3 separate regions of the Homo sapiens genome follow, and all the other regions are linked to region 2. Evidence: promoter capture Hi-C in 16 types of primary human blood cells and fetal thymus (Javierre and others, 2016). All regions are on one chromosome and are shown on one strand. Each heading gives the region's core, a stretch centred on a gene start or on the middle of the fragment in contact. The rest is flanking DNA. Distances are from core to core; before and after follow the strand shown.

Region 1 (3,554 bases), core at 113-2,612, 510 kb before region 2:
CCTTTCCTCCTGTTGGGGACTGTCACCTCCTCTGAGAGTACTCCCCCAGGCTTCCCTGCCCAACCCCGCCCCCACCTGGCCTCTTGGGCCCTCCCGGGAGCCCCTGGGGAACTCCTGCATTGCTCAGTCCTTCCTCCAGGGCCCTGACAGCATCACAGATCATTTCATTGATTTTCCTGCCTCTTCCCCAGGAGCTGTCTTTGCCCTTTAAACAGTTGTTGTCTACAAGAGCTTGGTCTTGGGTGAGAGAGGGCTGCCTTGAGCCTCAGACCGGTGGTGTCCCTAAGATGCTCCTCCCAGAAGCATTTGGAATCAAATGGACCTGAATCTTGGTTCTGCAGCTTTAGCTGTATGATCTTGGGAAAAATTCTTTAATCTTCCTAAGCCTCAATTTTGTCATCTGTAAAATAGGGTTGACACAGCTCACCTCACAGTGTGGTGGTGTGGAATGCATGAGATAACACATTAAAAAGGCCCTGGCAGTCAGCTGGGCATTGTTTCTTGAGCTCCAGCATGTGCCAGGTGCTGGGAGAATAGCAGTAGGCAGAGCCAGCCAGCTCGGTGCTGCTGCTCTGCTAAAGCTACAGCTACGCTCCGGCTCTGGCAAGATAGGAGCGTGCTCAAGCTGAACTGCAGGGCAGGTGCTGCGTACATCCTCTCGCTACTCCTCCCCAAGGCTTGAGGAGGTGGGGACTCTGTGATTATCCACACTTTACAGATAAGCAAACTGAAACCAAAAGTAACCTCTCCAATGCCCACAGATGAATTTAGGTGGCAGGCCTGAGACTTGTCCCTGAGTCTGCCTGACAGTGGCCTCTGCCGTTATTAATAGCTTGCCCCCCACAGCCTCCCACTCAAATTGCTGGAGGAATTACCCTTCCTCCCTTCCTCCAATTCTTCCTTCACCCACCAAGAGCCAGACCCCACCTCTGTTTCAAGAGTGAGCCGCTCAGCTTTGGCCAACCGTCCTAGCATTTCGATGCACTTGGCCTGTCCCCCTGGTTTCCACTCTGTTTTTAAGGAGGCAGCCCCTGTCCCCCAAATGCACCGCCTCCAACAGGCTCTGGGACTCATCTTGCCATCTCTATTGGCAGCAGAGTGGGGAGGGAGAGAGACAGCCAGCTTGTCTGCCATCACTCACCACTGGATCCCCAGGGCCCAGCTTGGAAAACTCACGGACGATGCTCAGAAAACCGGTGTAACTCCTGCAGAACAGCCAGGGGCGTGGGCAGCCGCCCTCTCTGTGCCTCCTGTAATGAAAATGGGTGCTAGAGGCTCTTTTCCTTTGGGAAAGGTGAATTACTGGCACAGCCACACGTCTGAGATAGTATTTCAAAAAGTAAGGAGTCACTTTTTATATTATAAAACTAACATATGCACAGATAGCAAATACAGAGAAGGGTAAAGAAAAGATAACTATTGCCCATAATTCTACCACTTTTTAATATTTTAGTATTTTTTTCTCACATTTTTTCTGTCTTTATTTTACATGTTAGGGGTTATCATTTTTCTACTGATATCATGAACATTATTTCTTATCATAAAGACTCTTTTTTTTTTTTTTTAAGAGATCAGAGTCTCACTGTTGCCTAGGCTGGAGAGTGCAATGGTGCAATCATAGCTCACTGCGGTCTCTTAATTCCTCAGCTCAAGTGATCCTCCCACCTCAGTTAGTAGCTAGGTCTACAGGTGCTTGTCACGATGCCCAGCTAAATAAATCCTTTTTTTTGAAACAGGGTCTCACTTTGTTGCCCAGGCTGGGGTGCAATGGTACAATCACAGCTCACTGCAGCATCGACCTCCTGGTCTCAAGCGATCCTCCCACCCCAGCCTCTCGAGTAGCTGGGACTGCAGGTGTTCACCACCACACTTGGCTAATTTTTGTAATTTTTGTATTTTTTGTACAGACAGGGTTTTGCCATGTTGGCAAGGCTGGTCTCAAACTCCTGGGCTCAAGCAATCCTCCCATCTTAGCCTCCCAAAATGCTAGAATTTACAGGCATGAGCTACCACACCTGGCCAAAAAATTCTTAATACACTTTTTTTTTGGCCACGTAATGGTACACTATAAAGCTGGCCTGGTGTGCCTTTCTCTATGCTGATCACTTGGGTTGTTTCTGGCTCTCGTAGAGAGCGATGCTCCAGACATCTCTGTGCACACAGTGGTCAGGCTCTGCAGAAGTTGCCAGTCGTTGCTACATTCTGCCTTTCAGGGGCACTCTGGTGGGGAAGATAACTTTTCCAAGAGCATCAAAGACCAGATATGTATGAGGTGGGGAGACTCAGAAAGCCCAGATACCACAGCTGGAAAGGCCTCAGAGACCCTTAACTGAGGAAAGGGAGGCCCGGAGGGCTTATGTGGCCTAACCAAAGATGCAGCGCTTCTTAGGGAAGGATACAAGAGGGTGGGCTTAGCTGAAGCTCTTGGCATTTAGAACTTCTTGGATCAGCATCCAGCACCCTCAGAGGCTGTACCTGGGGAGGAGGTACCTCTCTTCCTCCATTTGACCCAATTCTAAACCCCCTGTAGCAGTGACGTCTGTCTTCGTCTCATTCCAGTGCACTTTGTGAATTCTAGAGGGCTTTCCCAGAACCAAGGAAGGCTGCTCTGCCCACAGCAGGCCTTGGGAATTTAACCTCCCTGGGAGCAGCCTCAATGAGTGATGCTCTGGAACTGCTGGGTCAGTAGCCCAGCCCCTGGCCCCTTGGATGGGATCATTTGAAGCCCTGTTTTCTGCACCATTTTTCAAGTTCCCTGGTGGGGCTGAGTCTGGTTGCAAATCGTGAAAGCTGCCCTATAGTACTTTTACCAGCTGCCTCCCTTTCTCTGTCTCACTTCCTCATTCCCCTCCTGATGTCCCCTGCACTTCCCAGATACACTACTTGCCCCTGAATCTTGCCCCTTGAACCATCACACCCTGGGACTACCCCAGGTGCCACTCTGTTTGTTGTTTCTCCGCCTAGAAGGACGGGCACCCAGGAAGCAAAACGGGAGGGCAGGGAAGGGAGGGTGTTCTGGGGAGGCTTGACAAGAAACGAGGCTTTTAAAAGAAACAGCAGCAAAGTGCCAGGCCTGCACCAGCCAGCTTGAGTCACACTCCAGGGACTCAGCAAAGCTTGTCCACCTTCCTGGTCCACCCTGGGCCTGTCCATCCTGGAGTGACCACCGGGCGTTTCCAGTAAAAATCCCTTCACTTCACTTCCGTCATCTCCGAGTCAGGCAAGGTGGTGGAAACCGGGGAAGACCTCAGCTTCGGAGCTGCTGGAATTTGTGTGACTCACGCCCTCCAGTGGTCACTTGACAAATGACATAGGGCTCACGGTCTGGGGACTTGAGCTTGTTAGGGCCTCAGAACCGGGAGGGTCCCAGGAATGCCTCTTCTCAATGCCTTCCTTTGACAGCTGAGTGGAGTGAAGGCCCCACAGGACACGTGACTCGCCACGGGACATGCACACACACAAATAGAGAGTAAGAGCCACGCCCCTGTGTTTCCTTCACGTCCCACCTTTATCATTTGTGTCACATCTGCATGCACCTATACTGTTATTTGCTT
Region 2 (4,091 bases), core at 571-3,070:
ACCGGGAGCCGGAGGTTGCAGTGAGCCGAGATCGTGCCATTGCACTCCAGCCTGGGCAACAAGAGCAAAAACTCCATCTCAAAAAAAAAAAAGAGAGAGAGAAAACAGGACCGCAAAGTTTTCAAAATGGTTTATCAGGATGAAGTAAAATACAGATTTAAAAAAAAGGCAGATCACTCGTCTATAACATTATGGTGTACTAAAGTAAAAGAAAAACCCACTGGACTGATAAGAACTTTTGAGTTCTTTGTCCCACTTCGCGACATACTTTCTAGTCTTAAAATACAGTTAAAATAATAACTGGACACAAATTCTGTGTTCTTTGCATCTTTTTTTTTCTTTTTTCTGTGTGAACTCTGCTACAATTTTTTCCCTTTTTTTTCTGTGTTTGTATCTTTAAAAATGGTTATTAAAACCAGGGTTAAAGTCCCTTCCTAATCAATCATCCCTAAGACAACAAAAGTCCAGAATTCTAAAACAGCTGTTTCTAGATATAAAAATTCACCCACATACAAAATAGTGCGCGTTTTGGCTACTTCAGCCTCTTCCCTTCTCTAGAAATAACTCCTCCTTGTACTTAGTAAAGGCACACATTCACTTCAAGAGTAGGAAAATGTAAATGCTCTCTGCTCAGCGGCCGCAGCTAATTATTACTTCACACAGTAAGATCAGTGTTTGCTAAGTGTTATCAGCCAATGTACAGCACCCCCCAACACCGTCAAACGTTGTTCCAGTTATTTTACTTTAAAAGAGGATTTAAATAATGCGACGTGCTTTCCACTGAGCCACTAAGTAGGTGTGGACGCACAACCTTCAACACTAATTGCCCTTTACTAAGCCGACCAGGGCTAGACACTAAGCCAGAAAAGCCTTTTCCAGAGTTTCCTCTTCCGCACAAAAGCTTTCCTTCTGTCACTCCACCCAACCACCCAGCTCCTCCCTTAAGTGTTTGAAAGATAATTCTAAAAGTCTCCTCCCCCGAACCGCTGCGTTTCTTAAGGCCACACCATTTTAAAAATACTGTATTGCTTTTGCCAGGCTGTTGGGACCTCTTCCATCTCATTTCTATCTAAGAGTGGTTGGTACACACGAGGACCCCCTCCTTTCATTACCGCTTACAACCCACAAGTTTACTTTTCCCCATTGTAAACCTAAAGTCCCTGAGTGGCCCTTCCCTGTCCACTCGACAGTCATGCCCTGAGCCAAGAACTCCCAGGACAAGAGCCCTGCGCGGACCTCCGACGAAGAAACCGGGGTCCTTGCCCGCCCCAGCCACACAGCAACCGCGAGGGAGCACAGTAGGTGCTGCATCCACGTCGGTGCCGTTTACCCCTCAGCCAACTCCCACCGAGGCGGCTTCCTCCTCCTCGCTAGTGGGCTGGCCCTGGCGCACTGGAGCTCTTCCCTCAGACTTGGAGTCGCTTCCTCCCAAACCTCCTCCGGGGAGTCCCTGCCTCTCCTCGGCCCTCATGCGCCCACCCACGGTCCCAATCCTCACCGATCTCTTTCTCGTTGACCCTCGGGGGAAAGCTGGCCATCTATGGGGCACCGTCTGATTCCGGGAATACGATGCGGACCCAACAACAGAGAAGAGAGTGGCGACCGCTGAGGGGCGTGACGCCAAGTTGGTCCCTCCCGGGCCCAGGGACAGAGGAGACGGGCGGGGGCGGCCGCTGCGGCTTCTGCTAACTGCCTCGGGAAAGCTCCCGAAGGCCTCAGACCAAAGTACGGAGTCAACCACAGACAATAGACCCTGTACCCAGCCTCGCGCCTGCGGAGGAAGACAGTTCCCCTAAAGCGCCGACTGCAAACGAGACACTGGAGTCAAAATGGCGGGCGGCGCCGGAGATATCTGGGCGGCAGGGGCGCGGCCACGTGACGTCACAGCCCGAGGCCCCCGCCTCCCGACGCACGGGACGTGATCTCCCCGGCCCGGCGCGGGCGTTGCCTGGGGGCCTCGCAGGGGGAGATCCAGCCCAGGCTGGTTCCGCTGACTCTGCCTGTAGGCCGGTGGCGTCTTCTGGGCCTGGATGGTCTAATATGGAGTTTATAAGCTGAAGTGGCTTTGAAAAGGGCAAGCAGAGAATTGTATTATTATTAGCCTCCTAGCTTAAAGATTGCATGGAACTTAAACTGGCTGAACCAAAAGAACAAAAAGACATTTCAGGTTTTCACTCAATTTGGCCAACTCCCCAGCCCACAAGTAATAGGGAACTGAAGGATGCACTGATGAAAAAGACAGGATGAAAATTAACATCGTTGTGCACCACCTGTCCAGCTGCGATTGTTCAGACCTGAGCCAGCAGGTTTTAGGAAGGGCCGAGGGGAACGAGAAGGAGACTCGGGCGTGATCGCGCCGCACCGCGCCGCGGGGCCTCTCTGGACTGCCTTTGTCCTGGCCAAGATGGATCCCACTGTCCTGGCCAAGATGGATCCCACTGTGTCAGCTCAGAATTGGCCCTTCCTCCACCTTACCTGAAGGCCTCTGGGAGGCACCTAGTTGTCCACACATCAGACTGATAAATGTGTCAGTATCTGCTAGATGCCAGCTTGGTTCCCGGTCACAGATGACGTATTTGCATTTTAATGGCTTCTCGTGTGGACCCTAAACATTGCAAAGGCCTGGGGCGTATAAGACTGGGAATTCAAATATGTGGCAGATATTCATGGGACAGAGTAGAGTGTTGCATAGCCGCTTTTTTTTTTTTTTTTTTTTTTTTTTTTGAGACGGAGTCTCGCTTCTCCCAGGCTGGGGTGCAATGGCGTGATCTTGGCTCACTGCAACCTCCGTTTCCCGGGTTCAGGCAATTCTCCTGCCTCAGCCTCCCCAGTAGCTGGGATTTGTACAGGCATGTGACACCAAGCCCGGGTAATTTTTGTATTTTTAGTACAGAGGGCGTTTCACCCTGTTGGCCAGGCTAGTCTCGAACTCCTGGCCTCGAGTGATCCGCCCGCCTCAGCCTCCCAAAGTGCTGGGATTACAACGTGAGCCACCACGCCCGGCTGCATAGCCGCTTTTAAGAGATCTCAAATGATAACACTGTAGGGCATGTTTACTTCATCTTTTCTTTGCATGAGTGTATTAATTCTTCAAATAGCGAAATGTTTAATAAAACATCGCCCCTCCTTTTTTTTTTTTTTGGTTATTTATTTATTTTTTTTTTTGAGACGGAGTCTTGCTCTGTCTCCCAGAGCAGAGTGCAGTGGCGCCAACTCGGCTCACTGCAACCTCTGCCTCCCGGGTTCAGGCGATTCTCCTGCCTCAGCCTCCCGAGTAGCTGGGACTACAGGTGGCTGCCACCACGCCCAGCTAATTTTTTTCATCCTTTTAGTAGGGAGGGGGTTTCACGATATTGGCCAGGCTGGTCTTGAACTCCTGACCTTGTGATCTGCCCACCTCGGCCTCTCAAAGTGCTAGGATTAGAGGCGTTAAGCTACTGCGCCCTGCCTGCCCCTCGTCTTTAAAAAAAAATCACTTTGTTAGGCTGGGGGCGGTGGCTCACGCCTGTAATCTCAGCGCTTTGGGAGGCTGAGGCGGGTGTCAGGAGTTCGAGACCAGCCTGGCCAACATGGTGAAACCCCCATCTCTACTAAAAATACAAAAAATTAGCCAGGCGTAGTGGCGAAGTCCCAGCTACTCTGGAGGCTAAGGCAGGAGAATTGCTTGAAACCGGGAGGCAGAGGTTGCAGTGAGCTGAGGTTGCACCACTGCACTCTAGCCTGGGTGACAAGAGTGAAACTCTGTCTCAATAAATAAATAAATCAATAAATCACTTTGTTAGCTTCAGTCAACGATATCTTGAGGACTCACTCTGTATCAGGCACTGGGCCTAGTTGCTGAATTTTTAGAGTAGAACAAAAGAAAAACTTTAATGCAGTCTTGTAGCTCATGTACCAACATTCATATCAGTCTGAGTTAATTCTTTTAACCAACTGCTATTATCCCTGTTACTTGTACTATACCATACAAATTCATGGGAAATACCAGTTTTTGAGTGTCCAACAGTGAATTATTGTGATGACTTTTTCTTTTTTTTTTTCTCCCTGAGATGGAGTCTCACTCTGTCGCCCAGGCTGGAGTGCAGTGGCAC
Region 3 (3,813 bases), core at 733-3,232, 750 kb before region 2:
AAGGCAGGAACAGGCAGGTCCCTGAGCAGAATGACCAAGGCACCATTACCAGCTATACTCTTTTCCACCTTGAATCCCACACACCTTGAAGAAAGGACCACGCTGCAGCAGAAACTTCCTTGGGGACTAGCTGAGAAAACACTGGACTCTACTAGTTTTTTTAAAAAATGGATGAGATCACTTAGCAGCCTAGATTATCAAATCTGAAATATAAATAAGATGGCCAGTTAAAATGCATAAACAATGCACCCATCAATTTTAGCCTCAAAAACAATGACGAAAGGAGATATTTACCGGGCTAGTTCCAAAGAGTTCATTTTCCTGTGGTAATGGGCGCTTTTCTCGGGAGTAACAATTTTTGAATGCACTGAAAATATCAATTCATCTATCCAAAGTGGAATCATTAGTCCTTGGGAGAAAACCCAGTTCATTCTAGTTTTGATAGGAACAAACATATTTTATTATAAACTACTAATCTTTCTAAGGTTAGACCAAATAGACCAAAATGTTATATTTAAGAAGCCCTTAGGCTTTTACAAATATCCTAGCACTAGCAAAGGTAGGGTCATTTGTTAAAAAAGTATTATTTCCTACTACAGCAACTGACCAACAGATAACAGCAACTTAAGAGGCACTAAATGACACTAAAACATTACACTGAATGTGGGCCACTGCATAGCTAGTCTACTAACCTCATTTGTGGTACTCATGTGTGATGCTATATTTAATGCATTCTTATCAAAAGGCTACAGCTACATACTTCTCAACTGTAGCTTTATGGTTTAAAATAAACCACTCAAGCAATGATCTTAACTGGTTCAACTATGAATCCTATCTTTCTTCTGGAGATCAAGATCACAAAATAAGTGAAAAGACAGAAAGGACAGGAAAGTAGTTATGCAAAGTATATCCTAATGACAAGAGTATTATAAAGGAATTCAGTCTGGATCAGGTGCTAACACTTAATGCCACAGGGCCACTGAATCAAACACACGAGATGACCAAGGTCTTCGTAGGAATTAGTATTGCATACATTCATCTACTGATCCTGTGTTCAGTGGCTTGCTTAGGTTCTAATAGAAAAGTTTGGTAGACAGCACACTTATGTGTGTTGCTCATGAGAAGGCGCTCCACCAAAACTTGCCATGAGCCTAGACAGCCAATGCATTAGGCCTCTTTACCACATAAGTGAGGGTGGCTTCCTACAGTTGGGTTGAGAAGCTTGCTGCACCTTGGTCAACATGGAGACAACCATTAGAGATGGACTCATCCAATGACAACCAACAGAAGAAACCATGAGAGGTTGTGTTTTTCTTTGGATACTCACCAGACAACACCAAAGGCTCCATATCCAATAGGTCTATCCGGCTCAATATCCAGCTGCTGCTGTGGATGATGCGAGTGCTGATGATGGTGCGCCTTAACTGTAGCAGCTGCGGCAGCCTGTACCTGAGCTGGGGCTGCTGCAGCTGGTCCAGGAGCCTGCCCCGGTGCCGGTGATGGGAAATATGGCTGTTGTTGCCCAGGGTTTAACATGGCTGCAGCTGCAGCCGCTGCTGCGGCTGCCGCAGCTGCCGAAGAGGTGTGCTGCTGTACAGGGTGTACAGCGGCAGCCGACCCCGGATGAAGATGGTGTTGAGGGTGGTGGTGGTGGTGCAGGTGAGGAGGAGGGAGGTGTGGAAGGTGGTGGTGATGGTGGTGGTGGTGACCTGCTGCTGCTGCAGATGTACCGCCATTGTAAGCCGCCATCATTTTTGCGTTGGCTCTTGCGCCACAAAGAGACATTCAAAATAAATGCCCTTTGATTGGAAAGCAAACTGGGTCAAGCTGTCATTTGGCCATTTAAAAATGAAGAAAAACCACTCACTCCACCTCAAAAAACATAGAGCTTTATGTCTTCATCAGTCAATCCAAACAAGTTAGAGGATCTTGGTGTTTAATTTTGGGGTGAGCGTGTGTGGAAGGGTGTGGGTTGCCAAAAGGAAAAAAAAGGGAAAAAAGAAAAGAAAAAGGAAAAAAGGACCCCTTCCCCCCAGGATTCCTGCCACAAGTGGGTACTAAAACTCCATTCTTAATTTGGGGGAGGTTCCAACTTTGAATGTGGGAATAAAGGCCAAACCTCCCGACCCCCTGAACTCCACACACGAAAAGGATCAGGTAACACACCACCCTTGGAATCTTGAAAGAGGGTTGACTCATCTACCCCTTCCATTCCCACATCCTTTTCTAAACACCTACCACCTCCTCAAAAACAGGATTAAAAAAAATTCCCACCACCCTAAATGGAGAAGATGGGGGGAAATTTTCTGGGAAACCAGCTTCCAGCTTCCCCCCCCCCGAACTCTCAGGCCTTCCTACATCTCCCCCTACTCCTAGTCAGGTTGACCTGATTGGGGAGGGGGGGCGGGGGTTCCAAACTTTCCTGGGCAGAATAAGCCAGGGAAGGAGGCTGGAGTGAGGAGAGGAGGCGACAGCAGGACAGAGAGGAGAAAGAGAGCCGGGGCAAAAGTGAAGGGAAGGAGGTGCAGGGAGGAATGAAAGATGTGGGCAGCGCTCGGACGCCCAGACGGAGGGAACCGCCCCGGGAGAAGGTTAGGGTCCCGGGGCCAAAGAACAGGAGCCCCGGGAGGCGGGCGGGGTACGGTCGGAAGCGGGCTGACTCCTGCCCCCGCCGCCGGCTGCTTCTGCTGAGGAGGGTTGGGGGGGAGAGCGGGTGGGTCCCCCGCGCAACGGCCCCGCAGGGCTCAAGGCTGCTCCGTCTCCCCCCCTCCCCCCCACCCGGCTTCCGTCCCCGCGGCCGCTTTCTCCTCAGCCGCCGCGGCCGCCTTCTCCTCAGCCGCCGCCTCCTCAGCCGCCGGTTCCGCCGCGGCCGGACTCACCTCCCCTAGCAAAGCCGGATAGAGCGGAGCCAGCGTCGGACACGCGCAACCAGCCGCCGAGGCCCCGCCCCCGCCTTGCACGGACCGGCTGCCCTAGCCAATCCACGCCCACCTGTCCGCCACCGCCTCCAATCCTGGGCCAGGAGCTTCAGACAGGCGCACTGTTCGGCCAGTGGCAACAAGGTGTGGGTCTTCCGGGGAAATCCCGCCCCCGATCCGGGATGGGCAGATAGAAAGACCAATCAAAGGCAGAGTTTGGCTTGACCGACAAGGCTTAAAGCCAATTAAAAAGCAAAGATCTTTGTGACATTTTTCTTTCGCCTCTCTCCTCTTTTCTTCTTCTTCTTTTATTATTTATTTTTTTTTTTTTGGCAGGAGCAGGAAGCTGCGTGGTAATCCCGCCTGCAAAAGCTGGAAGAGAGGGGCGGAACGAAAGAACCAATCATGAGCCAGAGACAAAGAACAGAGTAACCAATCCTTGGGTTGAAAATGAAGTGGGATGGAACCTGGGCCAAATAGACACTTGAAAAAACAAATGGAAAAAAAAGGTTGATGTAAGTCCCACCCTTTAGATCTCCTATAGGACAGGATTGTGGAGAATTTGCTGTCATATCGAGACAACCTCTTCAAGGGGCGGGGCTTAGGGAAGGGGTGGGGTCTTAAAGTGGGCGGGACCTAGACGAAGAAGGCGGAGTCCAAATCATCACTGGTCCACTGATCCGAGATGTCCAATATCCCACTTAAGATGTAAAGTGTGGGGTAAAAAATAGGGGAAGAAAAAGGGAATGTTGAGCTTCAGAAACTCAAGGTCCAAGGTCACTCAACAAGAAGACAAAGGAAACTCAAAAGACTGACAGAAACTCAGTAGACTGACAGTTCGTAGTCTACGGCCGGTCCTCTCCATAGTTAATCCTGATCTTGGCAAAAAGAGGAG

Evidence for each region. The method cuts DNA at HindIII sites, captures the fragments that hold promoters and counts their contacts. A CHiCAGO score of 5 or more calls a contact.
Region 1: a contact is called between a fragment that was not itself captured here and the fragment with the promoter of WSB1 in region 2, in 3 of 17 cell types (non-activated CD4 T cells, total CD8 T cells and activated CD4 T cells). The highest score is 6.6, in non-activated CD4 T cells.
Region 3: a contact is called between the fragment with the promoter of NLK here and the fragment with the promoter of WSB1 in region 2, in 1 of 17 cell types (erythroblasts). The highest score is 5.4, in erythroblasts.

What each region holds. Positions count from the first base shown.
Region 1 is chr17:27,805,356-27,808,909 of GRCh38, reverse strand. No RefSeq gene overlaps it. Among named protein-coding and RNA genes, the nearest start is that of NOS2, 6.6 kb to the right of the region's middle. RefSeq lists enhancers at 1-98, 712-831, 2,577-2,596, 2,513-2,752, 2,378-3,425 and 3 more, a silencer at 14-176 and promoters at 1-3,554, 93-3,554. The HindIII fragment of the contact is 3,513 bases long and covers 1-3,118 here.
Region 2 is chr17:27,291,843-27,295,933 of GRCh38, reverse strand. It overlaps WSB1 (WD repeat and SOCS box containing 1), which reads right to left and starts at 1,820. Exons shown (of 9, transcript NM_015626.10): 1 at 1,499-1,820. The coding sequence starts at 1,538. MIR4522 (microRNA 4522) reads left to right here and starts at 1,938; the gene lies at 1,938-2,024. RefSeq lists enhancers at 1,542-1,601, 1,612-1,671, 2,042-2,091 and a silencer at 1,792-2,001. The HindIII fragment of the contact is 5,795 bases long and covers 904-4,091 here.
Region 3 is chr17:28,040,846-28,044,658 of GRCh38, reverse strand. NLK (nemo like kinase) reads right to left here and starts at 1,982. Exons shown (of 11, transcript NM_016231.5): 1 at 1,328-1,982. The coding sequence starts at 1,785. It overlaps LOC105371709 (a long non-coding RNA gene), which reads left to right and starts at 2,939. Exons shown (of 3, transcript XR_934637.4): 1 at 2,939-3,062; 2 at 3,255-3,433. LOC102724517 (a long non-coding RNA gene) reads right to left here and starts at 1,321. Exons shown (of 2, transcript XR_001752820.2): 1 at 1-1,321. RefSeq lists silencers at 2,595-2,824, 2,845-3,074 and an enhancer at 3,242-3,536. The HindIII fragment of the contact is 3,107 bases long and covers 1,224-3,813 here.